Linked DNA regions of Homo sapiens: regions 1, 3, 4 and 5 are each linked to region 2. The links are contacts of gene promoters, found by promoter capture Hi-C in blood cells and fetal thymus (Javierre and others, 2016). All regions are on one chromosome and are shown on one strand. Each heading gives the region's core, a stretch centred on a gene start or on the middle of the fragment in contact. The rest is flanking DNA. Distances are from core to core; before and after follow the strand shown.

Region 1 (5,876 bases), core at 2,818-5,317, 340 kb before region 2:
GAGCCTTTGTTTATCAATAGGTACCTTTAAAAGATTAAAAGGCAAGCCACTGAGTAGGAGAAGACATGTGTGACACAAATAACCCAGAAAGAATTAATATCCATAATATATTTTCAAAATTTTAGTAATCAATATGGAAAAGACAACACAGAAGAAAAATAGTCAAAAGATACCAACAGGAAATTTACCTTAGAAGAAAATCACATGTGTATTGAAGGAATGAAAAATTGTTCTACCTCATCATTAATTAGGGAAATGCATTAGCCGGGCATGGTGGCACATGCCTGTATTCCCAGCAATTCAGGAGGCTGAGACGGGAGTATTGCTTGAGCCCAGGATGTCAAGGTTGCAGTGTGGTATGATCTTACCACTGCACTCCAGCCTGGGTGACAGAGTGAGACCCTGTCTCAAAATAAATAAATAAATAAATAAATAAATAAATAAATAAATAAATAATCCTTTGAAAAATAAGGGAAATTCAAATGTAATCCACAATGAGGTATCATTTTATACCAGTTGATAAAAATTTTAAAGTCTAAAAATTTCAAATGCTGCATAAAATTAGAATTACTGACTCTTACACACTTGAAGATACAAATTCCCTACTATCCCCAGAAAATGTTATTGCTTTTAGACACTAATTATATCCAATATCTAGAACTTAGTCTAATAAACTATGAACAAGGCCTCTACCAAGAACACTTAAAACATAATTGTGAGAACTTAAAATGTAAATGGAGGTGTGTTTTAAAGATGTTTATTTATTAGAAGACTCAATACTGTAAAGATGCAATATTTGTCCATTTTAGTCTGTAATTTCAATGCAATTCTGATTAAAATCCTAACAAGTAGGGGTGTATATGAGTGTAAATTGACAAACTCATTTTTATATGTTTTTGGAAAGTCAAAGGATAATAATAGCCAAGACCATCTTCAAGACAAATAAGATGGGAGAATTTACTGGTGATATGGTTAGGCTTTTTCTCCCATATCCCCAAATCTCATCTTGAATTGTAATCCCTATAATCCCCACGTGTCAAAGGAGAGACCTGGTGGGAGGTGATTGGATCATGGGGGCGGTATCCTTCAGGCTGGTCTCATGATAGTAAGTGAGTTCTCATGAGATCTGATGATATTATAAGTGTAGTTGTCTTTTCCACACTTGCACGCTCTCTCTCTCTCTCGCCTGCCACCATGTAAGACGTGTGTCTTCCCCTTCTGCCATAATTGTAAGTTTCCTGAGGTCACTCTAGCCATGTGGAACTGTGAATCAATTAACTCTTTTTTCTTTAGAAAATACCCAGTCTTGGGCAGTACTTTATAACCGTGTGAGAACAGACTAATACAACTGGATATTGAGTCATCTTATAAAGTTAAAATAATAAGACATTGTGACATTGGTGCAGTGATAAATAATGGAACAGAATAGGAAACCCAAAAACACACCAACAGGTATAGTTTTCCATTTTGATTGTTCCTTTCATTAGATGTTTAAAACTTTATAATGAATATGTACTTTTAGTCAAAATTTATTTACTTGAGAAGCAAAGTGATGTATGGATTATGGCCTCTGAGGCTATAATGTGAGTTTGACCCAAATAATGATCCAAATGTGAGTTCCAGTCCCAGTTTTGTCCTATACTACTAGCTGTTTGAGCGTATTCAACTGGTCTGTGGTTCTTAGTTTTTTTATCTTTAACACAAGATAATAAAATTACCTCTCAGAATTATGGTGAGAATTTGACATAACAAGTATAATCCTGCTGGCACATGCTGTTCCCTTGATGAGGGGAATTTGTTATTATGTTTCTTAGGAACACAAAACTTCTGTTTATTCTTGGTAAGAATTCATGTTTCCCAGATCTATGTGTACTATTTGTTATATTTAAGGTTATCAAATTGTATCCTTGGTAATGGTTGCCACTGGATCTTTTTTGGAATATGTACAACTCCTTATTCAAAGTGGCTTTCTAATCATGATTAGTTTTTTGTAGTTTTGGAAGAGCCATATTACTGCCCTGCATTCATAAAGCAGTCTTGTAAACACTGATTATGATAGTGTTTTGAAAAATTAAAAGCCTCCAAAATCACTAATTTTTAAAAAATAATGCAGTTAAATATAGAAAAGGATTAGCCATAGATATTTTGTAGTTAACCCTATTATCATTAACCTAAGTGAATAGAACCTAATTTTTGTACTTGCTAATAATTGCTATTAAGAATTTTGTTAATCGTGTGTGGATTGGTGCTTGAGTTCAGAATGAATGATTGATAGGGGACAACTCTAAGAAATACAGCACTTACATTAATGTTTTATTAAACAGAAAAAGCTTTAATGTTTTATTAAACAGATTTTAAGAGTTACAGTCTTAAAATCTTTATTATTTATTTTATGAAATATTTCATTTTGTTTTTTTTCTGGGCACTTTAAAATTGAGATGAGGATGGTAGAATTTGCCAGTTTATTTTTTGGCTATTTTTTTTTTAACCCATCTTATTTTGAGAACGAATTTAGTAATATTTTTCTCAACATCCTGAAATTGTGTAACCTGTAGAAACTTCCCACTGTCTTTTTAAACTTATTCTTAAATACCACATTTAATATAGGATAAATAAGTCACAAAGCTTGCTTATCAAAACAGAATATTGTATTCAGCTTTCCATCGGAGCTTTTGGGGAAGACATCACAGTATTGTACTGTCTCCCAAGATGCAAAGTATCAGGCTTTAAATAATGAAAATAAGGGAAATGCCAATAGAAAATTAGAAAAAATGTTAGAACAGTTAAAAACAGCATACTGAAGCCTGCATTATTTGGCTTATCTAAAAATCATATGTTTTCAACCAATCAGTACTTATAGTCATTCTATTTAATCTTTTAAGAAGGAGACATAATCCACCCTCACCAAGTGATTCAGTGTAGCATCCTAACTAATAATGACTTAATGTGTGTCCAAATGGCATGTAATGAGAAGTATGAAACATTGTCTGTATACTTTCTTGCCTAAGATACTTAACTGAGTCTAATCATAAAGTTCAGACATATCTTCACTGTGGAACATTTCTACAAGACAACGGCCTGGACTCTTCAAAAATGCCACTGTCATGAAAGACAGTAAGGAGAATGGAAGGAGACTTTCAGATTAAGGGAGACTAAAGAGACTTAAGCAAATGTAGTATTAGATCCTTGACTATATATTAGATAATACTACATCACTGCCACATTTTGTGCTTATATAGGAAAATCTCCTTGGTCAGTATGTATCATAATAGGGTCATAATGTCTGCAACTTATTTTCCAGTGGTTTGAGGGGAAAAAAGACGTGTGTGTGTGTGTGTGTGTGTGTGTGTGTGTAAAGAATATGTTCTAATTGATACATATACGTAAATAGCATAGGAGTGTTCATTTGTACTACTCTCAATTTTTTCTATAGGCTTGGTTTCAAGATGAAATTTGAAAAACCTTAAGGGAAAATATGTTTAAAGTATGATAATAACAAATTAGCACACTAGATAAACTTTTTATAGCTTTTGTGAGTTTTTTTCCTTCAGAAAATCATATTTATGTAGATAGCAGGATTAAAGAAAACTTTTCTAAATTTCAGATGTCAGAAATGGAGACATCTAAATTGTTTTTCCATTTCATCTCTAAATGCTAATGAAAACTGGACTTTTACGACATTAAAGACATTTAATTGATCTCTGTGGGATTTCATGTTTAGCTTTTTTCAACAGCTATATATTGAACATTTAGGTGATGAGATTGAGTAGCTAATCTTAGAGGCGCTCTATTGAGATTGTCCAGATTCCAACCCTGATCCCACAACTTACCACCTTTGTGATCTTGGACAAGTAATTTGAGATATCTGTGCCTCATTCTCCTCAAATATTCAACAGGATAATAATAATACATACCAGTTTCTTAGGATTGTAGTAATGCTTAAATGAATTAATATATTTGGAGCACTTAGGAAAGAGCCAAGTACATAGTAATTTTCTAAAAATTATACCTACTTATTATGTGGATCTTTGCTGAGGAAATATGAGTAAGCATACAAGACTGGACAGGCTTTGAGTAGTGAAGATGTTTTACTCACAAGCAAGGTAATTATGCCTTTTATATTAAAAGAAAGTTCATATGGAACACTCTGCTTATATGCTTCATCTTCTTTTCAATCAGATAATAAGTTCTCCAATGTAGAAGGGAAATGTCAGCCTCACACATAAAAATATACCTGTCAGAGATTATATAAGTGTCAAAATAATACTATCTAGAGAAATTCAGGACATTTGGATAAATAAAGGAATGTCATGTAGTTTGGATAGAACATAGAGAAGTGAGGAAAGGAGACATTCCCAGATAGAATAACAGCTCAATGACTTGAACAAGGATACAGATGCATGTAGTATACACAGTGGACTAGACCATTTATGTGTGTATGTACATATGTGAAAAAAAGTCTTTGAAATGTTTGCATTTCAATTAAATTCTGATTTTAAGAACTTATTTTCCCCCTGTATCCTGTGTGTGCTAGCATTCTGTTTCCTAAGGCATTCTTTCAGACAGACATACCTAGTCCTGAAAATGCTGCTATTATTGTTCCAGATACAAAGCAGGATGTCATAATTTTTTTTTTTTACTATTCCAACTGGAATAATATGGCTCAACTTAAGTTCTGTACAAAACTACTTAATGATAACTCACAAAATTAAACCAATTTATATTTTCTGCAGTTAAAATAGAATGCACAGATTTTTAAAGACCTAGGACACATTATTATATCTAGTTCCTGAAATCATTAAATGTCCATGGGGAAGAAAAAAACTTGTGTAAGTAGGAATAATATAATTGGATTTGCAATGCTCTCTTAAGAGATTCTTTAAAATCATGTGAAATAAGTAGAGTTTCTATGATTTTTTAAAAATCACAAATAGCATATATCCGTTTTATCTTTAATAGTGTTTGAGCCCATCATTTGAAAGCATTGGAGCATGTAACCAATATTTCTGAAAATGAACCATGGTTCCAGTCATAATCTATATGCTTTAAAATTCCTTCCCTTTATTCTTTCTTCCCAAATCCATGACATCTGAATTTCAATAAGGAAGAAAATAAGCATGTTTTTAAAATGTTTTAGAAAAGATTTTCAAAATTAGATTAAAATGTTTGAGGAAATAAAAACTTCTTTATGTATTCATTGTGATACTGATTTTTATCAATGTCTTTTTGTAAAAATACCTATATACTAACTTTGAATAGGTCCAACATATGGTAATGTGTTATGCAATTAATGATAATGTAGAACGATGTTAAACCCACAGAATATTGCCAAGGATTTACCAACAACCAAAAATGTAATTATATAGAAGAAAAGTGTAGTTACAAATGCAGTCTTTTGTCTTTTTACATTCTCTATATGTAGAGGGTAACAGAAATACTGTATCACTTTTTAGTATATGTTCTCCCAGAATAAGTTGCCACAATTAGAACAGAGTTTAGGAGCCTATATTAAGCTTTACTAGTTATGGTTATTTCCATAGTGCTAGTAAATAAGAGAAAAAAACTTTTTGAACCCATGTCTCATTGTAGGTCTCCTAAAGGAAAGTGGCCCAAAGTCCAAATACTTCAATACCGTTCGTCTCTGCCTGATAACAAAGTGTTTTGTTTTTGTTTTTACCCTCGGACAAGCCAGTCAGCTGATCTTTGTCCTAATTTGTTCCTGGTAGAATTGAACAAGATGTTTGCAGAAGCTTCCTCTAGTTTGAAAATTGTATTGATTTTTTTTCCCCATAGTAACTCACAGATGGCTTCTCAGGTTGGAAATAATGGTGTCCATGTTTAGGTACCACGTGTTAGATCAGATTTGTACTCATGGA
Region 2 (5,363 bases), core at 1,023-3,522:
GCCGCTGCAGTGTCAGTGGCATGAGGCTGCAGGAGTCAACCAGGGCAGGAAGCCTGGGGCCTCCCCTCCCTGGCACCCGGCATAGCCATGCCCAGGCCCAAGATGGCCCTGACTCCAGGGACAGACTTCAGGCAACAGGTGGTTTTCCACCCAGGCCACCATGCCTGAAACTTGGTTCTTTTGCAAAGCCATAGTTCTCCTCCCCCTCTCAAAGAAATGGCGCCTGGGAGGGAAACTTCGTGCTCAAACTCTCTAGGAGCCATTTCTCAGCCCACCTTTCCTATTTTCTGAAGTCTCCCTTGCCAGCATCCCATTCACCTCCGGAAAGAACCAGGGGCGCTCTCTTCAGAGTCCAGAGAGCTCTGGGAGGCATGTGGGCAGCGTCAGAGTGGCCTCGCCTGGGCGGCCAGAGGAGCCCCCAGTCTCCCTCAAGTGGGCCTCAGGAACTCGGGGGGCCCAGGGGAAGCCTGGAAAACCGAACTTCGCCATCAGCCTTCCTTACAGCGCTGGCTAAAAGAGAGGGGGGGAAGGGCCCCCCAGCGGTCTTCCCCGCCCCCCTCCCGCCTCAGCCCCTCTGCCATCCGCCTGCACCGCCCAAGAAAGCACCCAGAACGCGGCTGAGCTCGCCAGCTCCTCGCAGGCAGGGAGAGAGCATCCTGGGGGGCAGCTTCCCCCTCCAGCCCGCGTCTGACATCCCCACTCCCACACAAGGATGCCGCCGCCGTGCCCTGTCCGCAGTCGCTGAATGTCACTGCTCCCTCTTCCTCCCGATCAGGGTAGACACAGCTCCCGAGGCGTCCCCCACCCCAAAACTGCCGCGATCGCCCGAAGGCGCAAAGCCTGGGCGAAGGACGAAGTTTGGGGCCCACAGCGACGGGAGTGGGGACGCGTTGGCGAGGACCGCACCTCAGTCCCAGCCCTGGCGGGCACACTCCCCGCCCCAAACGGCCCAGGCGTCCCCATCCTCCCGCGGACACCAGCGTCTCCGCCCTCCCCCGAGGGCGGCGAGAGGAGCCCCCCGGGGCGGAGGCAGGTACCCCCGGGGCGGAGACTGGGGCGGGCGGGGTCCGGGCTGCGCCCCCGGCCAGGCCGGGCGGGCTGGCGGGCGGCGCGGGGGGAGCGGGGCTGGGCGGCGCTGCCTCGGGCTCTGTGCGCTGCAGCCCGGAGCCGAGGAGGAGGAGGCGGAGGAGGAGAAGGAGGCGGCGGCGGTGGGTCCCGGGCGGGGGGAGCGCGGCGCTGCGGACCCGGGCGGCTGGCAAAGGACGAGGCGGAGGCTGAGGAAGGCAGCGGGGAGACCCAGGCTGCAGCAACAAAGGGCAGCGAGCGATTGGCCGGGCTGCAGGCGAGGTTAGCCGGGGACCCGGGTGGCCGGAGGCAGCGGCGAGCGGTGCACGTGCTTGCAGACACGGGCGAGTGTGGAGCCGGGGGGTGCACGCCCGGTGGGTAGGGGCTTGCTCCCCCGAGGCATGGGATGGCGAGGAGGCTGCAGCGACATCGTTCTGCCTGCACCCGGCCTGGGGCTGGCAGGGTAGGGGTGTGTTGGGGGGGGAAGGATGCGAGCCAGGGGGCGGGCGAGTAGTCGCCCGGGACGGGACGGGACGGGAGAGAGGGTGGAGGAGGGGGCGGGATGGAACGCTCCGGGCGGCGCGCCCGTCCGCACACTCCACCGAAGGAGCTGGCGACTGAGAACCTCGAATTTTAACTTCGCGTGCCCGCCCGCGCGCGCCCGCCCGCGCCCACCCCTAAATCCTGCGGCCGCCGCCAGCGATCAGCTCTCACACAAACTTTAGCTGCGGGCTAGGGGGTTTGGGGTTGAGTGGGGGAGGGGAGAGGGAAAAGGCCTCCTGATTGGCGTCGTCTGCAGCCAATAAGGCTACGCTCCTCTGCTGCGAGTAGACCCAATCCTTTCCTAGAGGTGGAGGGGGCGGGTAGGTGGAAGTAGAGGTGGCGCGGTATCTAGGAGAGAGAAAAAGGGCTGGACCAATAGGTGCCCGGAAGAGGCGGACCCAGCGGTCTGTTGATTGGTATTGGCAGTGGACCCTCCCCCGGGGTGGTGCCGGAGGGGGGGATGATGGGTCGAGGGGTGTGTTTATGTGGAAGCGAGATGACCGGCAGGAACCTGCCCCAATGGGCTGCAGAGTGGTTAGTGAGTGGGTGACAGACAGACCCGTAGGCCAACGGGTGGCCTTAAGTGTCTTTGGTCTCCTCCAATGGAGCAGCGGCGGGGCGGGACCGCGACTCGGGTTTAATGAGACTCCATTGGGCTGTAATCAGTGTCATGTCGGATTCATGTCAACGACAACAACAGGGGGACACAAAATGGCGGCGGCTTAGCTCCTACCCCTGGCGGCGGCGGCAGCGGTGGCGGAGGCGACGGCACCTCCTCCAGGCGGCAGCCGCAGTTTCTCAGGCAGCGGCAGCGCCCCCGGCAGGCGCGGTGGCGGTGGCGCGCAGCCAGGTCTGTCACCCACCCCGCGCGTTCCCAGGGGGAGGAGACTGGGCGGGAGGGGGGAACAGACGGGGGGGGATTCAGGGGCTTGCGACGCCCCTCCCACAGGCCTCTGCGCGAGGGTCACCGCGGGGCCGCTCGGGGTCAGGCTGCCCCTGAGCGTGACGGTAGGGGGCGGGGGAAAGGGGAGGAGGGACAGGCCCCGCCCCTCGGCAGGGCTCTAGGGCAAGGGGGCGGGGCTCGAGGGCGGAGGGGGGCGGGGCGGGATCGGGTGGGGGCGGGGTTCGGGGAGTCGGAAGGCGGGGGCTGAGAGGGAATTTCTGAGTGGGAGTGAACTGGTAGGAGCGGTGGGGGGCCGGCGAGGGTGTGAGGAAGACTAGTGAGGGTTGGGTGGGAGGAGAAGCTGAAGGTGTAGAAGCAGGTGCAGAGGGAGAGTTAGGGAGGGATGCAATTTGAGAGAAGTGGAAGGCGGACCGAGGGGTGTGTGAGGGCAGGTGAGATGATACCGAAGGCGAGATTGCAGTTGTCTGGGCGCAGAGTAGGTGGGTTTGGGTGTGGTGGATGTGGAGTAGAGTTGAAGCGGTGCAGAGTGTTGGGTTTGGGGAGGCGTTGAGGGGTTTGGGGAGGCATTGAGGCGCATGTGAGGAGCAGGTACGATTGCAGTGATGGGAAAGAGGTATCTGGGTGGATCGCATGTTGGAATAAGAAGGAGGTTTGCTAGCTTTGGGGTATGAAGTATTTTTTAAAAACGTGGAAGGATGGGATGGTTGTGCTTGGGAGAGTTTCTGAAAGATGATGCTAAGACAGCAGAGCAAACTTAAATATGAAGGAAGGGGAGAGAGGCTGCTTAGAACTTGCAAAATCTGTGGCAGAAAATCTCCTGGGGACAAGGGATTGGTAGGGGTGGGACAAGGCGGCAGGTGTGAAGAAAGTGGGTGGAGCTGTACAGTAATTTTCGGTGAATGTGATTTGGTGGACTGTGCCAGGGGTGAGGATGGGGCAGAGAAAGGTGTTAGTTTGGGAGACAAGTTGTTTGATAGGCTGTATTTATTATTTTTTATAAAAATGAGAAAAGGGTCTCACTATGTTGCCCAGGCTGGTCTCGAACTCCTGGCCTCAAGTGATCTGCCCACCTCTGCCTGACTGATGGGATTACAGACGTGAGCTATGGCGACCCGTGATACGCTGGATTCATTATGTTAAACTTGATCTGGAGTCTTCAAGGGAGTGTCCGGCAGCAGGGTATCCCAGGAAGAGACATGCACCATACCTTGGGATAGGACATTTTGCATAGCTTTGAATTTGCTAGTACTTTGCTGTGGGCAGAGTGCAGGGAGTGGTAGGAGATGACCAGGCAAAGGCAGAGGAGGGGTTAGATTACAAATGGTGTCCTATGCCCCATGAAGGAGTTTAAGCCCTGTAATTGGTAGAAGGTGTTGGGACGTGTTAAAGAGAGTGTTAGACAGAAGTTGTGAAGGGGTAGTGATAAAGAATTACAGATGTGGGAAATAGGAAATGAAGACCAACGAACCAAGTATGTTTGGGGTTGGAGGTACCAAGGAAATTCAGGGTAGAGCATATGAGGGCCCCTCCTATATGGACAGAAGGTGGAAATAGCAAATGGAAATTAGTTGTGTTCGAACAGTCTTAGTTCTATGGGGCCCCAAGAAGGTTTTTTGTGTTTTTTTTTTTTTAAAGTGCATTCTTCCTGTCTTACTTGTATACCCTAGATTTTTTGGCATAGCCTTGAAATAAAACACTCCATTTTTTTCTTACTCATAAGTTCTTTTTTTTTTTTTTTTTTTTTTTGAGACGGAGTCTCAGTCTGTCGCCCAGGCTGGAGTGCAGTGGCGCCATCTCGGCTCACTGCAAGCTCCGCCTCCCGGGTTCACGCCATTGTCCTGCCTCAGCCTCCGGAGTAGCTGGGACTACAGGCGCCTGCCACCACGCCCCGCTAATTTTTTGTATATTTAGTAGAGACGGGGTTTCACCGTGTTAGCCAGGATGGTCTCGAACTCTTGACCTTGTGATCTGCCCGCCTCGGCCTCCCAAAGTGCTGGGATTACAGGCGTGAGCCACCGCGCCCGGCCATTCATAAGTTCTTTACACATTTATCAGAATGAATTTGGACAGTATTTTATGTTTTTAAGAAGGAAAGGATAATGCACATGTTTTTTCTTTTCCGAGAACTTCTACTGAGAGTTAAAGGTTGGAGTGGTGAAGTGATGGTTTAAAAAAAAAAAAAAAGAAAAGAAAAGAGAGAGACAGAGGAAGATTTTAACATTAAAAGAGGAATTTAGGGAATGGCTGATGGTCATGACACGGTCGGCAGAGGAAGTTTTGCTTACTAGCCACACTTAGGCTTCTGAGTAGAGTGGATATTATGTCATTGCTATTATAGCATGTGTTTATTTCACACACTGCTTTTGAAGATTGGGTGGAAACTGTCAGATGTGAGGCATAGCATGAATGAAAGGTAAATAGCATGAGTATTAGAAAGTAGATGAGGAAGTTTAATAATTTTAATGTGCTTCATAAGCTCTCATGGACTTTCACGTATCAATTAGTAAAAGACGTAACTAAGTGATCTGGCTTTCAGTCTCCTAGTTCTCTACAGTGTACCCTCAGTTTTCCACGTGCTTACACATGCCTACATTTGTACTGAGAGAAAAGGAAATAGTTTTTTTTTTTTTTTTGAGACAGTCTTGCTCTGTTGCCCAGGCTGGAGTGCAGTGGCACGATCTCGGCTCACTGCAACCTCCACCTCCTGGATTCAGGTGATTCTCCTGCCTCAGCTTCCCGGGTAGCTAGGATTACAGACATGTGCCCAGCTAATTTTTGTATTTTTAGTAGAGGTGGGGTTTCGCCATGTTGGCCAGGCTGGTCTCAAACTCCTGACCTCAGGTGATCCACT
Region 3 (5,355 bases), core at 1,499-3,998, 270 kb before region 2:
TATCTATAGAAAAGGACTTCAGATTTCAGTGCCTGGTGGTATCAGGCCGTATTTATGCCTTACTATCACATTTAGAGTGTGTTGTAGGCTGTCAGACCTCCAGAAATAAAGTAGGAACATACCCCTCTTACTGTGACTCTTACCAGATACTTATTTGAAACAGTCCAAGCACTGGCATATTAGGGAATGGTGCTAACTCTTTCTAACCATTAATAAGCAAAATAAATTTCAATGTGAGCTTTTGGCTATACTATACCTATGGTCAAGTGGCACTACAAATTCAAAATTTTAAATATTCTTTATTGAAACTACTAGGAACAACTGTTTTATATATAGTAGAGGAAACCAGGGCTTTATTCTCTTGACTGAAACGTGTAAGAAGTGATTCATAGGTCTTCAAACACAAATTAGTAAATTTAGGAAGCTAAAAAGGCATATATATTTGACTACTGATGGGGGCAATATGTTGATTGTGTAATATTTTTATCTACCCTTTCATCTCAGTTATAATTTAAAAACCATTTATATACTACATAAACTATGTAATATTGGATACTTCTGTGTCTATATAATTTGCAACAAAGTAGAATAAATGGCCAGAGATGTTATTGTAATCTTATGGTTGAATGTTATTTCTTTTTTCTAGGTCATTGTTTAAAATCTGGACATCATAGAAACAGATAATGCAGAGAGAAAATTCTTTCATAATTCCACCACATCTCAATCTTTGTTATTAGTTTTAAAATATGTCCTTCTAGACATATTTTATTGTAAAAAGTATTTAAAATACTCATTTTATTTTATTGCCGCAAGAGAGAGAAGGGCATTTATTGTAGGGCACCAAGCAAGGAAGATGGGCAGCTCATGCTTAAGACCCAACCTCCCTGCTGGCTTACAAGCATGGGTTTTTAAAGGCAGGGGTACATTTCAGGAAAGTAGAAGTTACAGGCAAAATTGTTAATCAATACATAGAGGTTATACATGGGTTGGCTCAAAAAGGAGTAAGGTTTTGAGTGGGGGCTTACAGGTCATCAATGGATTAGGAGATTCTTTGATTTGCAGTTGGTTAAGGAAGAAAGGCTTTGTCTAAAAACTTGGGGTCAGCAGAAAGGAGTGTTGAGGTTTGGCCTTAACATAGGTTAGTTAGGATAAGGAAACCTGTTAATCATTATGGGGTGCTATGTCAGGGTCAAGGTATGAGAGCAAGCCACGATGCACTGGGTCAGAGTGACCAGTTTAGGAAATTGATAGCCCACAGGTGTGACTCTCTCCAGGCCCCTCAGGAAGCAATTTAGAACAAAGAGCAGCAGTCAGAGTTCAGTCTTCAGTTTCCCTTTATCAAAGGTCTATGTGACAGCAGTTGACATTTTCTTTTTTCTGTTTTCTTAAATTTATTTATTAAAAGAAGTGTCTCATTCTGTTGCCCAGGCTGGAGTGCAGTGGCACGTTCATAGCTCACTGCAGTCTCGAACTCCTGGCCTCAGGCAATCCTCCTGCCTCAACCTCCTGAGTAGCTAGGACTACAGGCACATGCCACTGTGCCCAGCTCATCATTTTCTATCTGGTGGGTATGCTGGCATGTTGGAGGAAGGACCTGGCGAGAGGTGCTTGGATCATGGGGGCAGTTTTCCCCATGCTGTTCTCATGACAGGAGTAAATTCTCTCAAGATCTGATAGTTTAAAAGTGTGTGGCAGTTTCCTGCTCGTGCTCTCTGTCTCTCCTACCACTGTGTAAGATGCACCTTGCTTCTCCTTCACCTTCAGCCATGATTATAAGTTTCCTGAGGCCTCCCCAGTCATGTGGAACTATGAGTCAACTAAACCTCTTTTCTTTTTAAGTTACCCAGTCTCCGGTAGTTATTTATGGCAGTGTGAAAACAGGCTAATACACTTGGTTTCTGAAAAGTAATTTGGCTGGCTTTGAAGTGGGGATGGGCCATGAGCCAAAGGATGCAGGCACTTCTGGAAGCTAGAAAGGCAAGAAAAGATTATCCCTTGGAGCTTCAAAAGAAATCAACCCTGCATGCACCTTGATTTTACCCTAGTGAGGCCGGGCTGGACTTCTGATGCTTCAGAGACAAGGGTTCCTCCCTCATCTGTCTCAGGAAGACTTAGGACTAACTTTAGGCTTTGAAGTAAACAGAAGCTGAAACATTTGAATGTTTGATTTTCATGATCCAGAACTCAAGCCTCATAGGTCCCATGCATTCCCTGAACCCAATAGGATGTCACAGTCTGCATACCTTCACACCATGGCAGTCTGGCTTCTTCCCTCTCAGGCCTGCAGCCTCATGCTCTGGGCTTCCCTGGAAGCTGGTGTTGTGGGGGCCTGCAGTTGCCACCCTGCTGTGTGTCAGCACTGCTCCCTGACGCTGTTCATCCACTGACCTCCATTCCTTGGCCCAGCTGCCCAGGCATGGCAGACTACACGCAACCTGGGTTGTGGGGACCAGGCGGAGCCAGCAGCACTAGGACCTGATGGCCAAAACACTCATTTTAATGAAATCATACTTTAATTCTGTTTTGTATCTTCTCACATAAAATAGCTAGATCTCTTTTCCTAGTAGTACAAACTTATCTATCTGCCTTATTTTGTATAAGAGTGGTATTATATGAATACATCATTGTTTATTCTTCTATTGAAAGCTTTTATGTTGTTTTCTGGGTTTTTGTTATTATAGTTCTGTAGTAATATGTCTTATGTACTTTTGTGTAAATAGTTCTATAGGCTCAATCTCCAGAATTGAACTGCCAATTCTTAGTAAAGGAAAATTTAACTTTTGATACATTTTACCAAACTGCCCCTTCAGGGGATTCTACCAAATCATATTCTCTGTTTAAATGTCTTTTTAAGCTTTGCCAAACTGATATATTTAAAATGGTATTTTATTGTTTCAATTTGCAGTTTTAGAGGTAATGTTGTAATTCTATATCTTTTCATATTATAGTGCATTTATATTTTCCTCTTCTCTTAACTCCTTGTTTGCCTAGCTTTCTTTTTCTTTTGGTTGGTTCAATTTTTCCAACTAAGTTTTTTCATGTTGTTTTTTTTTTTCTTTTTCCTTTGTATTTGGGAAATAAATCCTTACTTGTAAATACTTCTTGCAGTTTGTCCATTGACTTTTTTTTTGAGACAGGATCTTGCTTTGTCGTGCAGGCTGGAGTGCAATGGCATGATCACAGCTCACTGTAGCCTCAACCTTGCAGCCCTCTGGCCACAGGCTCCTGAGTAGCTGGGACTACAAGTGCGCACCACCATGCCCAGATAATTTTTTTAAAAAATTTTTTTGTAGAAAAAGGACCTATGTTGCCCAGACTAGTCTCAATCTCCTGAGCTCAAGTGATCCTCCCTCCTTGGCCTCCCAAAGTTCTGGGATTGCAGGCATGAGCCACCATACCCAGCCTGTCTGTTGATTTTATTTTCGGTGCTTTTTTTGTATATGGAACTTTTTCTATTAGTATTTAGTCATATTTGTTAGTCTTGTCCTTTATCCCTTCTAGCCTTTACCTTATTTAGTAATATCAGATGATGTGTTTCATATGGGTCTAATTTATGCATTCATTCACTTACAGAAGCTAATCATTTGAGTCCTAGTGTACCAAGTATCTTAGATGATGGGTCATTGCTGACTGTACAATCTAAGAAGAATCTTATTTGCAACAATGATGCTTTAGCGTAGCAGCAGACCAAATTCTCTAGGATGATTAGCAGCTAATTCTGAATATTGCTGTAAAGTCATAGTAGCATGTAACATGTACAGCAATAGTAAAAACATGTAACAGTTTGTTCCTTCCTAAAATTTTGTTAATTTAGTCTTTTATGTGTCCTTATATTTATAAATATTAGTTTTGTGGCTAAAATGTGTACATTTTTCCAAGTTATAGTATTGAGAAGCATAGCTAGTAGCATTTCACCCAACAGAAAAAATTCCTTTAGATAAAAGCCAAATCACAGTTGGCCTCATTCTACATACTGTTCTACAAATTACAAAATCAGTAAATGTTTATTGGGTACCTGTTTTTATTGCTAAGCTCTTGCAAGAGAAAGAGAGAGGTGGTAGGATTTTTTTAAGGTGCGAGCTATTATCCTATTTTTAAAGAGCTCATAATCTAGTTTGGAATGTTTGGCATAAGTACATCCAAAGGTAAATAATAAAACAAATGATAATTGCTCAACAATATGTAAAGACCCCCCTCTCCAAACCAAAACAAAACAGAACAACAAAATTGTCAGTCTCTTCTGTGAGCAGTATTATCTGCTGAGGACATGTTACTGGTCGAAGAGCTTTGGCTGCAGTCATTCCTAGAATGCAAAATGAAATCATCCAAAAAACTGAGAGTGGCCAGTTTTACTAGTCAAATGGAGTAAGTGGTCATCTGTGAGTTTGTGAATCTGTCTGCCAGAATATATTTATTTTCTTGCTTATTCCACCAGTTACTCCTTCTTGTTAAAGCTTTCACCGTTATTAAAGAGAAGTACCTCCTGGAAATTTTAGCCTGCTAGATGTTGTCAAACCTGATAGCACAGTGTGATAGGCTAAGATTCTTTGTTCATTTGTTTTGGATAGGGAAGGAAAGACACAATGAAAAGACTAGGAGTCTGAGGTGAGGGAAGATGATGAAGAATATGAATCAAGGGATCAGGCATCAAGATAACCGTTCATTTATTTAAATGTAGACTTTATCTGTCTTGATCAGGCATCAATATAACCTACATTTATTTAAAAGTAAACTTTATTTGTCTAATGTATGTGTTCCTAATCCCTGAATCTATTCATTTCATTGAAATTGATGAGTACTTTCAATACAAATAGTTACAATATTTTAAGATGTTCACTGTTTATAACATCATTATATGAGTCCATGTTAAACCAGAGAAGCAGAACCAGTAGACAATATAGATTTAGAGATTTGTTACAAGGAATTGGATGATGGAAGTATGGAGGCTGGCTAAGCGAGTCCAAAGCCCAGTCAAGAGGAAAGCAGGCTAGAAACCCATGGGCATAAGCTGTTTAGAGTCCCTCAGCTCAGGGAAAGCCTAAGCTCTCTTTCAAAGGGCTCACCTAACTTTGCCTTGTAATTTTCTATAATGGATTCCTAGAGTTTACCAACTAATATGACGGTCTAGAGTTACATTTAAGTGAAATTTGATTGTGAGATTGTATTCTTAACTGTCTATATCTGGTGCTCTTGAGCACGTATACAACCTTCTCGCCTTCTCTAGGTCCCTAAAAGTCATTTCTTAATTCAAAAAATATTTAAATGCCTGCTATGTACCAAGCACTTCTCTTGATAGAGTGGTGAGCATGACAATCTAGTAGAAAAGTGAGACAGGGAAACACCAACATTACTGTG
Region 4 (5,925 bases), core at 265-2,764, 290 kb after region 2:
TCAGGAGTTCAAGACCAGCTTGGCCAACATGGCAAAACCCCATCTCTACTAATACTATAAAAAGAATTAATCAGGTGTGGTGGCTCACACCTGTAATCCCAGCTACTCAGGAGGCTGAGGCAGGAGAATCTCTTGAACCCGGGAAGCAGAGGTTGTGAGCTGAGATCACACCACTGCACTCCAGCCTGGGCAACAGAGTGATATGTCTCAAAAAAAAAAAAAAAATCGGTTTCTCTAAGGCAGAAGAAGCCATCATGACTGCGATGGCAGAATATGCAGACATATTTAGGTAAATCAGTTTTGATTTCAGTACCATAACCCCCCTTCTGCAAAAGCTTATTCACATTGCACAGTTGCTTATAAACATTTTTTTATTTTGTTAATCATTAGATCCTCAATACTTCTTCAAAACTTTGCTGTTACTGATTAAGACATTTTCATGGCTTTTCTAAGAATTGAAATTTGAACACTTTTTTTGAGAAACTTAAATCACAGATGTTTCCATGAATAGTATTATTATTGTTTTATAAGAATGCCATGTTAACAAGCTATTCTTTCAAGATTTTTACTTCCAGGCCTGATGTAATATATGGTGTTAATTGTTGGGTGTACCTAGCATGCCCGTTAATTTATGGATGGAAATCTTTCCTGTCTTCAGATTCTACCCCCTTCATTTTTCATATGCCAGTGGATTGTTAATGAACTAAGATTGAATTCACTTTTTAATTTTAAAGCTTCTGTAGCTTTGATTCTCTTTGGACATCAAACTGATTTATACGAGATATGAATACAATTGCATATTCTGCTAAATTACCTATGAAGCTCTTTTGAATGATTGTGGTATTTGGTGAAAAAATACAGTATGAGCTAATCAAAATTCTTTTAAGGGATTTAGGTTATAGAGGAGGACTATACTATTTCATTCCCAGATTAGATTAAATGTTTTACTTATTTGCAGAGATGACAGGGGAGAGCCTTGATTATTTTCACGTCTCATGTATTTATATTTGTTTACAAATAAAGAGTTACTTATTTGCAAAATGCCGTATCTTTAATACTTGCTTACATGTGATTTTGGGAATTCTTTTGGAACCAGTTTTTGTTCTTGTTTTTGTTTTGCTCTAAGGGTATGATGTAACACATTGAGGGGTTAATAGTAGGGCAAGAACAGAGAAAGCCATTTGACAACAGATATCATCAGGACAGTGATGCTTACTTTAGGTCTTGTGGTTTTCTTGGCCTTGAGAAATCAAGATGTTAACTAAAAATAGGAGAGCATGGGCCAGGCACACTGGGAAAACAGATTGGTGTTTACATGCTACCGCTGTTGCTTCCTGGTAATTTGCCATATGAATGTGTGGGTATGGATTTGTAACAGACCTGTGATGTGAATATTCCTGAACCCCCTCCTCCCATACACACAGTACCATCATCACAGATCTGAAGCCTAACCTTTAGCTGAGTTCAGTGACTTCATGTTTCCGTATTGAAATGTTCTGTTATTGGGTCCTCACAATACTATAGAATGTAACATACTGCGGGCACGGTGGCTCACGCCTGTAATCTCAGCACTTTGGGAGGCCGAGGCGGGCGGATCACGAGGCCAGGAGATCGAGACCATCCTGGCGAACACGGTGAAACCCCGTCTCTACTAAAAATACAAAAAAATTAGCCGGGCCTCGTGGCAGGCGCCTGTAGTCCCAGCTACTCAGGAGGCTGAGGCAGGAGAATGGCATGAACCCGAGAGGCGGAGCTTGCAGTGAGCGGAGATCACACCACTGCACTCCAGCCTGGGCAACAGAGCGAGACTCCGTCTCAAAAAAAAAAAAAAAAAAAGACTATTAACTAAGAAAAACTTGGTTATAATAGTTTCACCACAGTGTTTCACCATAAAACAATGTTTTATGATATGTACCTCAGAAAAGAGTGTTGTGGGGCAGGGCAGTGAATTATATTTATATTTGTCTAAGTATTTTTTGGTAGTTTTTTTTTTTTAAAGATAGGGTCTCACTGTCTCCCAGGCTGGAATACAGTGGCGCGATCATGGCTTATGCAGCCTTGAACTCCTGGGCTCAAGCAGTCCTCCTGCCTCAGCTTTCTGAGTAGCTGGGACTATAGGCGTGTGCCACCACACCTGGCTAATTTTTTTAAATTTTTCTTTTGTAGAGATGGGGTATCAGCTATGTTGACCAGGCTGGTTTAGAGCTCCTGGCCTCGAGCAGTCCTCCCACCTCAGCCTCCCAAAGTGCTAGGATTACAGGTGTGAGTGTCTTAAATTTTTGAAGTGCATTTAGTTAAGCTTATGAGTTGTGGCAGAGGACAAGAGGTAGTAACATGAGTATCTGTTATCTTGATACTTGTTCTGTTGTCTTGAAATTTTTGACAGATAAATTCTAGTTGGAGGTGAGAACCATGGATTCTGCTAATTTAGGGCCTTCCTATAGGTTAACTGGTGTCACTGAGTTTTTGGAAATACTTGCAAATCTGTTTTAGTTTGGAACTTTGAGATTAAATGGAATTGATGTCAGTTCCATCAATATAATATTAGCATGAAAGCCAGAGATTTCCAAAACCATACATTAAAATTTGGCTGCAAATCCAATCCATTTTCACAATATTTAATGGAGTTTGAAGTCTTGAGCCAGTTTCTCATTTTCCATTATATTGATTAGATTTTGGATGTAGCATATTTATTTATTTATTTAGAGACAGAGTCTCACTTCGTTGCCGAAGCCTGGTGCAGTGGCGTGATGTCAGTTCATAGCAACCTTCGCCTCCCGGGTTCAAGCAATTCTCCCACCTCAGCCTCCCCAGTAGCTGGGATTACAGGCGCGTGCCACCATGCTCGGCTAATTTTTTGTGTTTTTAGTAGAGACGAGGTCTCACTATGTTGCTCAGGCTGGTTTTGAACTCCTCGGCTCAAGGCATCCACCCCCCTTGGCCTCCCAAAGTTGGGTTTACAGGCGTGAACCACCGCAGCCTGCCAGTGTAGCATATTTAAAAATAAAGATTTTACCAGCTGGGTGGGGTGACTCATGCATGTAATCCCAGCACTTTGGGAAGCTGAGGTGGGTGGATCCCTTGAGCCCAGGAGTTTGAGACCAGCCTGAGCAACATAGTGAGACCTCGTCTCTACTAAAAATACAAAAATTAGCCGGGTGTGGTGGTGTGCACCTATAGTCCCAGAACTCAGGAGGCTGAGGTGGGAGGATCACCTGAGCCCAGGAGGTCAAAGCTGCAGTAAGCTGTGATTGCGCCACTGCACTCCAGCCTGGGTAAAGAGTGAGGCCCTATCTTAAAAAAAAAAAAGGGTGGGCGTGATGGCTCACACCTGTAATCCTAGCACTTTGGGAGGCCAAGGTGGGTGGCTTACTTGAGGTCAGGAGTTCAAGACCACCCTGGCCAACATGGTGAAACCTTTTCTCTGCTAAAAGTACAAAAAAATTAGCTGGGCGTGGTGGCACGTACCTGTAATCCCAGCTGCTTGGGAGGCTGAGGCAGGAGAATTGCTTGATCCCAGGAGGCAGAGGTTGCAGTGAGCCGAGATTGCGCCATTATACTCCAGCCTGGGCTACAAGAGTGAAATGCTTTCTCAAACAAACAAACAAACAAAAAAGATTTTACCAAATTGATATGTTAAACTGCTAGCCTGGTTAGAATAAAAATTAGAATTTTAGATACTTAGCTTCTTTACTGGTTTGCTGTGGCATTGCAGCCAGGTCAGGAACCCTTTACCAAATTTATCACCAAAGTCCTATCATCGTGGAAAAATTTTTGGTATAACTGAGAATATAAAATGGACGGTAATATCTGTCAGATTCTTACTCATTGAGGGGAGACAGTTCTGGATTTGGTGTAGATAACTTGGTGCAGCCTGATAGTAGAAGTTAGTTTAAAGGCTATTTGGAACCAGAAAAAGATGTTATTTGGTATATATGACAACTTTTTTTGAGTGAAATTATAAGAGTTCACGGTTAGAGCAGCAAAAAAGTCCAAGAACTGAAGTGCAGCCAAGAGAATGATGATGTAACTGAGGAGGGAATTTAATTCTTTTAAAGATGCTGCCCTAAATTCTACTGCTCAGAAGTGGGACATAACAAAACAGAAAATCACCACTAAAGAGTTTCAAAATGGATGGTAGGAGTTAGTGCAAGGTCTTTGAAACTGTTTTGTAATTATTGCAGATTTTATCGATGTTTTGGAAACAATACCCTGTGCTTGCTAAGAAAATGCAAAATAGGCTGGGCACAGTGGCTTGCGCCTGTAATCCCAGCACTTTGGGAGGGTGAGGCAGGCAGATCACTTGAGATCAGAGTTCGAGACCAGCCTGGCCAGCATGGTGAAATGCTGTCTCTACTAAAAATATAAAAATTAGCCAGGTGTGGTGGTGTGCCCCTATAGTCCCAGCTACTTGGGAGGCAGAGGCAGGAGAATTGTTTGAACCTGGGAGGCAGAGGCTGCAGTGGGCTGAGATCACGCCGCTGCATTCCAGCCTGGGCGACAGAGCAAGACTCCGTCTCAAAAAAGAAAAAGAAAAATATCTTTCTATAAGTATAAAGAGAAAAGAGTAGTTTTTGTTTGCTGAATGAAAATGTTTTCATTTATGGTAAAAATTTTAAAATAGTATGGAAAAAAGTTGGATAATCCCAAATACTATAAACTACAGAGTTATTAATCACAAAGTTTAGCCATATATGCCCAAATTAAACCTTATCCTCCTACATCATAGTTTAGGCTTTTTGCTTTCATAAGAATTGTTTTTATGTTCTGGTTTATGGATCTGCAAACATGTAGTCTTTATTATGTGGATATTAGATAAGCTAAATGTATTTGATTTAGCTGTATTTCAGCTTCAGTGCATCTATAATATATAATTGCCCTAAGAAAAATTTATTAACTCTAGCTTTATATAATGTTTGAAGTCTCTTCCTCAGTGTTTATCTTGGGATATGGATCTTAATTTTTTTACGTTTTATACATCATTTGGAAGCTGTTTAACTTTTAAATTTTGTAAACTAAATCAGTAATGATTTGTTTTTTTTTTTTAATTTGAGACGGAGTTTCGCTCTTGTTACTGAGGCTGGAGTGCAGTGGTGCGATCTCAGCTCGCTGCAACCTCCGCCTCCTGGGTTCAAGCAATTCTGCCTCAGCCTACTGAGTAGCTGGGATTACAGGGGTGCACCACCATGCCTAGCTAATTTTTTTGTATTTTTAGTAGAGACGGGGTTTCTCCATGTTGGTCAGGCTGGTCTCGAACTCCTGACCTCAGGTGACCTGCCCGCCTTGGCTTCCCAAAGTGCTGGGATTACAGGCGTGAATCAATAATAATTTATACAAATAGCACATATTGTATTTATGAGTCAAGTTTTATCAGTTGTGAATTCCTTTAGGGGCATTTGAATGTAGGGCTTTTAAATACAATCACAGAATTTAGAATAGAGGACAGTTGCTTCAGCTGGTTGTACTCCAATATTTTTGATGATTTTCTGCACACACATGCACACACACGTGCGCACACGTGAGAAGTGAAACTACAAGAAAAATCCAGCATGTTTAAGTCACTGTAATCACCATCTGAACATGGATTTTGCTTCTGTAAAAGTAAGCATATTGTAAAGGTTTCATTTTGTTGATATATTCTCTGTATTTTAAATATTGTTAGCTGGGCACGGTGACTCACTCCTGTAATCTCAGCACCTTGGGAGGCCGAGGCAGGCGGATTGCCTGAGGTCAGGAGTTCAAGACCAGCCTGGCCAACATGGTGAAACCTCGTCTCTACTAAAAATACAAAAAAATTAGCTGGGCGTGGTGGCGCGCATCTGTAATCCCAGCTACTCGGGAAGCCGAGGCAAGGGAATCGGTTTAACCTGGGAGGTGGAGGTTGCAGTGAGCCGAGATTGTACCACTGCACTCCAGCCTGGGCGA
Region 5 (5,392 bases), core at 699-3,198, 360 kb before region 2:
TTCCTGTCTCCCAATGAGTTAAAAAAGAAAAAAGTATCCAAATGTGTTCCCACCCCAACCCAAGCCTGTGATCACTTCTTTGTTTTTTTGCTTCCCTGTAAGGGTATTTCTCCCTATAATTATACTCACACTTTAAGAAGTAGGAGCCATTATACTTTATTTTCAAATTTCAAATTAGAAAGTGATTTGGGTTTGGAAGCTTGTTTCTGTCTCTGGCTATCCAACTGTTTCTCGGCTCCAAGATGTGAAACTGTTTCTTCACCCTAACGGCAAAAGGGCACCTGCTATTGAGCGTGCTTTGAGCGTTATTCTCCCAATAGTACCCTAGATAGGTAAGACATTTTTGAAATCAAAAATAAACAAAAACTTCTTGTTGTGATTTCTCTGTATACCAAAACATCCTCTTGACATAAACTGTGTTATCCTAATGACACAGACAAACACAAATTATCTTCATTTGGGTTGCAGAGTTGGGGGTCATTTCTTGTGCTTATGAGCCTGCTATTCTGCAACTGTGAGATTTCAGACATGTTCAATTTGTGGATTTTATTTTTTATTACACACACATGTGTAGTATTATTGCTTGTAATACCTTGTATGAATATAAAAAGATTGTCATTTTTCAGGTGTATATTAACTTCATTAATTTTTTACAATTCAAATGATGGAGAGATTCCTATTGAAGGATACTTAGCTTTTTCTAATAATTCAGTTATGATTTTATATTCAATGTAAATGATTTTGTCTCTCTGGGGCCAGATTATCCTATTTACCTTGACCCCCTACCATGACAATTTAAATACTGCATTTAACTGTAGTATATGTAAGATTGTCCTTAACAAATATGAGACTTGAAAGGTTGTTTTTGTTTGTGTCCTCTCCTCTGAAGTTTTCCTTTTAGGATGACAGCATACGATAGATGTGTTCTAGTAAAGTGCTTCTTTTATTCATGAATTACAAATAGCTTAAGAAAATGTTTAAAGTAAAGCTATAATGATTAGTCCTGGTAGTCTCCATTTTATTCAGAATGTCTCTGTCAGAAATTATGTCATCACTATGGACTGTTAGCCAGGAAGTTCTGTCTAGCAGATGAATGAATAGGGAGTACTGAGTTTTCTAATAAAAGACACTGTTGTAATATTGAAATACTGCTAATGGAGGTTGCCAGTTTTCTGTTCTTAAATTTACAGGACATCTTCTGTGATTAAAGTAAGGAATACTTAGAGCAAGTCCTTAGAGTAAACCAACTATAAACTTAAGAAACCGGAAATAGAATTTTTTTTTTTTAAACAATGCCATTTAAGTCCCTAACTTGTCTTGGTTCAGCTGCTAGACATTTGTTCCTTTGTCTCAAAAACGTTAGCAGAAAGCAATAAATATAGTTCTTGCTTTACTCAGCTAACATCTGATTTTATCTGCACATTGCTTCCATCTTAAAACTTTCTTACCTTACTAGTCTGAATGGCTTGTGTAGCCTAATACTGTTATAATTGTCAGAACAAAGGGTTTGATTATTTTGGCAAGGAAAAAAGCCTGGTAATAGTATTTGCATTTCAATTAATTGTTTCATTCTGATTTGAAATGTGACTTATGTTAGATACATCTCTGATCCTTCCCTATCTCAGTACTAATACTAATATGTTGTATTTCCACTACAATAGCATTACATCTTACAAACATTTATTTCCTTTATAACTGACGTAGAGCTTTCCACATAGTAGATATTTAATATAATTGATGGTTTGGAATTCATACATTTTGTAGGCTAAGTATAACTCTCCTACTGTTTCACCTACTTCCTAAGCTAGATTTATCTTTACAGGTACTAGACTTTATAGAACTAATGGTAAATTCAGTATGCATATCTTCTGTAGTAAACATAGAAAAACATTTTTGTAATAGTGCTCCCCAAATTTTAGTTTCTTGACTAGTAATGAAATATCTTATCTGTACTAGAGTTTTGTTATACAATAATGACAGCATTTTCATGTGCTATGTTATGGCCAGTTAACTAAAAATAAGTGGATATTTAAAATGGAAAATGAAATTATCCTGTTGCCTGAAATATCTTGACTCAGGTTCTATTACAGGTTGCATATGGTATCTGTTAGAGCTTTGAATCTATGTTGGTTGTTGAGTTATTATGTGCATTAACTATTGCATTCAAAAGTTCTTTAAAAGCATATGTCTGTTTTAAATCTTATACAAATTCCTTGCAGGTTTTGAGAGCAGTCTTTTTGTATGTCTTTCTTGTTTGTTGTTTTGTTTTTATACCAGAGCACCATGTCCTAAGCAGCAGTAAATTTAAAACATTGCTTAGGATAGTTTTATAATATCATTAATAGATTTTTATATTAGATAGTTTCTCTGAATTATTGACCTATTATAGGGAACATGGAAAAATTTAGAAAAATTAGAAGTTATACGGAGTATTAAGAAAAAAACTTTATATTTTGGTACTCCCAGGAAAACTAAAACCTCTTTCTAAGAGTATATTTTAGGAAATTTTCTAAAATTTTGTAAATCAACCTACAGAGAAAAAAAGTATAGAAAGTATTTTGAAATATTTGTGTGTATATGTGTGTGTGTGTACACAAGCCACATTTTCTCCTAGAACTCACTACTGAAATTTCTGAAAGTGATTCAATAAGATATATATTTCATATCTGGTTTTTAAAATCCATAGAATTTTTGTGTTTTGACCATCAGGTAGAGTCTTACAGTTTAGTCACAGTGGAATCATCAGCTTCAAAATGAAAGAACAAGATAGTCTCTTGGCATTCAAAAATTTAGCATACTTTAACTCATATTTGCTGTGATGTTAGGTAGTGAATTATTCTTGTTAACTATCTAGCGTCCAATGTGACATGTGTTTGTTGTTACCTACAACTTATCAAATAAACAGTTACCCTCTGGAATGATAAGAACTTGGGCTTTTTATGAAAAATACCCTCTAAATGAGGACAGAAATCTATATTAAGGATAGGCTATTGATTAAATTTAGAGATACACATAAAGATGACTCTCATATAAAATTTAGAATAAACATGAAAGTTTTAGCATGTCCAGACTTTAGGGATTTAGGCTTTATGAAGGTCTCAAGCCTGTCTCCTGGAATTCCAACATTGTGATGACTCAAATTTTATCAGTAAATATGGAAAAATAAGCTAAAGTTCTTGAGAAATTGCTATCTAATAAGTGATTATTTTATTTTTTTTCTAGTTTTAAAATAAAAAATCTTTACTATTTATTAGATTCACCAGTGTTTTATACTGGGGGTCCCCAACCTTTTTGGCACCAAGGACTGTTTCGTGGAAGATCATTTTCCACAGGGCAGGGTGGGGGAGGGGTGGTTTCAGGATTATTCAAGTGCATTGCATTTGTCGTGCACTTTATTTCTGTTATTATTACAGTATAATATATAATGAAATAATTATACAACTCACCATAATGTAGAATCAGTGGGAGCTCTGAACTTGTTTTCCTGCAACTAGACAGTCCCATCTGGGGGTGATGGGAGTCAGTGACAGATCATCAGGCACTAGATTCTCATAAGGAGCACATAAGCTAGATCCCTCACATGCACAATTCACAATAGGGTTCGCACTCTAATGAGAATCTAATGCCGCCAGTTATCTGACAGGAGGTGGAGGTCAGACAGTAATTTGAGCAATGAGGAGTGGCTGTAAATACAGATGAAGCTTCACTTGCACATCTGGCACTCACCTCCTGCTGTGTGGCCCAGTTCCTAACAGGCCATGGATTTGTATCCGTCCATGTCTGAGGGGTTGGGGACCCTTGTTTTATACAATTCTAATTGTGTCATTGAATTTCTTTTTTCTTTTTTCTCATTGTTAGGAGGCTAAAAACAAACTTGTCTTGTGCAGATTCGTCGTCTTTACCACCAAATTTTTGTCATGGTATCTTGTCTTTTTTTTACGTCTTTCTAAACTGCCTTAATCCTTGTAAGGGAATAGGTAAGGTGTAAATATAATTAATAAGGTGCAAGGAAATGTTATTAGAAAGAAATTAGATTGTTATTTGAAAACATACAGAGCCTAAATGTAAGAGAAATGTCCTAAGCAAAACTTATTAACAGGAAATTTACTGAATTGGAAAGTACTCTTGATTTTATGACTAATATGAATTGAGGTATTCTTATAGACACTCAGAGATTCCTGTACACATGTTACTTGTGTTTTTCCAAAACTATATACGTATAGTCTTTTTACAAATAAACAGTGGCCACCAAGAAAAATTACAGCAGTACACATAAGACATACCGTATACATGATACTCAACTTTGTCTATATCCTTTGTGTTCAAGTTTCTAGAAATTTTCATCTTTGTAAGGATATCATGTGAGTGTGCTCAAGGTTTGTTCTAAGAATCTAGCTGAGCACAGTGGCTCATGCCTGTAATCACAATACCTTGAGAGTCTGAGGCAAAAGGAACATTTGAGCCCAGGAGTTCAAGACCAGCCTGGGCAACATAGGGAGACCCCCATCTCTATTAATTTAAAAAAAAAAATTACCTGGACATGGTGGCATGCATCTTTGGTCCCAGCTACTTGGGAGGCTGAAGCAAGAGGATCAAGAGGATCACTTGAGCCTGGAAGGTCGAGGTTGCAGGGAGCCACAGTCATGACTCTGCACTCCAGCCTTGGTGATACAGCGAGACCATGTCTTTAAAAAAATAAAATAAGAATCTATACACAATTCATGGAATGATGTTGTTTTATAGTTTTACTGTATATTTGTTTCTGTCATAACTTCCAATATCCCAAAAACTTTTTAATTATTTTTATTCAAGACATACATACAGAAGCAGGCCAGGCACAGTGGCTGATGCCTGTAATCCCAACATTTTTGGAAGCCACGATGGGTGGGTTACTTGAGCTCAACAGTTTGATGCTACAGTGAGCTATGATCATGCCACTGCACTGCAGCCTGGGCAACTATTTAAGAAAAAAAGAGAGAGAGAGAGAAGCAGAAATTCAAAGGACACTTTTTGAAATGCACTTAATGTAAAGGCTGCTTTGCATGGTTAATTTATTCCTATTAAAGGAATACTACATTCCTGCCACTTTTCTAGGTGGTGAATTTATAGCAGCGACCAGGTAAATATTGCTGTCCTCAGGGTGCTTACCTTTCAGTGGGTAATGCTTTAAACAAAATATCTAGTATATTAGATGGTAATAAGAACCTTGGAGAAAAATAAAACAGAAAAGAGTGTTCAGGTCTAGCATGAAAGGTTACACTTTCAAATCTGATCATTAGGGAAAGTCTCACCCAAGACAGTGATGTTTAAAAATATTTCAAGAAGCAAGTTGTGCACATATTAGGGAGAAAAACAATCAGTGAATAAATAGCAAGTATAAAGTCTCTATGCC

What was found. The method cuts DNA at HindIII sites, captures the fragments that hold promoters and counts their contacts. A CHiCAGO score of 5 or more calls a contact.
Region 1: a contact is called between a fragment that was not itself captured here and the fragment with the promoter of KAT6B in region 2, in 6 of 17 cell types (total CD4 T cells, total CD8 T cells, naive CD8 T cells and 3 more). The highest score is 8.3, in total CD4 T cells.
Region 3: a contact is called between a fragment that was not itself captured here and the fragment with the promoter of KAT6B in region 2, in 2 of 17 cell types (total CD8 T cells and total CD4 T cells). The highest score is 6.0, in total CD8 T cells.
Region 4: a contact is called between a fragment that was not itself captured here and the fragment with the promoter of KAT6B in region 2, in 1 of 17 cell types (neutrophils). The highest score is 6.0, in neutrophils.
Region 5: a fragment that was not itself captured here is called in contact with the fragment with the promoter of KAT6B in region 2 in 1 of 17 cell types (total CD4 T cells); the score reaches 5.5 in total CD4 T cells.

What each region holds. Positions count from the first base shown.
Region 1 is chr10:74,485,053-74,490,928 of GRCh38, forward strand. All of the region lies in intron 6 of ADK (adenosine kinase), which reads left to right. Among named protein-coding and RNA genes, the nearest start is that of ADK-AS1, 41 kb to the right of the region's middle. The HindIII fragment of the contact is 2,888 bases long and covers 2,624-5,511 here.
Region 2 is chr10:74,824,328-74,829,690 of GRCh38, forward strand. It overlaps KAT6B (lysine acetyltransferase 6B), which reads left to right and starts at 2,273. Exons shown (of 18, transcript NM_012330.4): 1 at 2,273-2,458. RefSeq lists silencers at 399-448, 959-1,128, 1,239-1,338, 1,449-1,648, 2,339-2,738 and enhancers at 580-1,351, 1,352-2,123. The HindIII fragment of the contact is 8,590 bases long and covers 1-5,363 here.
Region 3 is chr10:74,556,815-74,562,169 of GRCh38, forward strand. All of the region lies in intron 7 of ADK (adenosine kinase), which reads left to right. Among named protein-coding and RNA genes, the nearest start is that of ADK-AS1, 30 kb to the left of the region's middle. The HindIII fragment of the contact is 208 bases long and covers 2,645-2,852 here.
Region 4 is chr10:75,114,124-75,120,048 of GRCh38, forward strand. All of the region lies in intron 1 of SAMD8 (sterile alpha motif domain containing 8), which reads left to right. LOC124902460 (a long non-coding RNA gene) reads right to left here. Exons shown (of 3, transcript XR_007062202.1): 3 at 5,520-5,593. Among named protein-coding and RNA genes, the nearest start is that of SAMD8, 5.4 kb to the left of the region's middle. The HindIII fragment of the contact is 1,565 bases long and covers 733-2,297 here.
Region 5 is chr10:74,459,872-74,465,263 of GRCh38, forward strand. All of the region lies in intron 6 of ADK (adenosine kinase), which reads left to right. Among named protein-coding and RNA genes, the nearest start is that of ADK-AS1, 67 kb to the right of the region's middle. The HindIII fragment of the contact is 3,502 bases long and covers 198-3,699 here.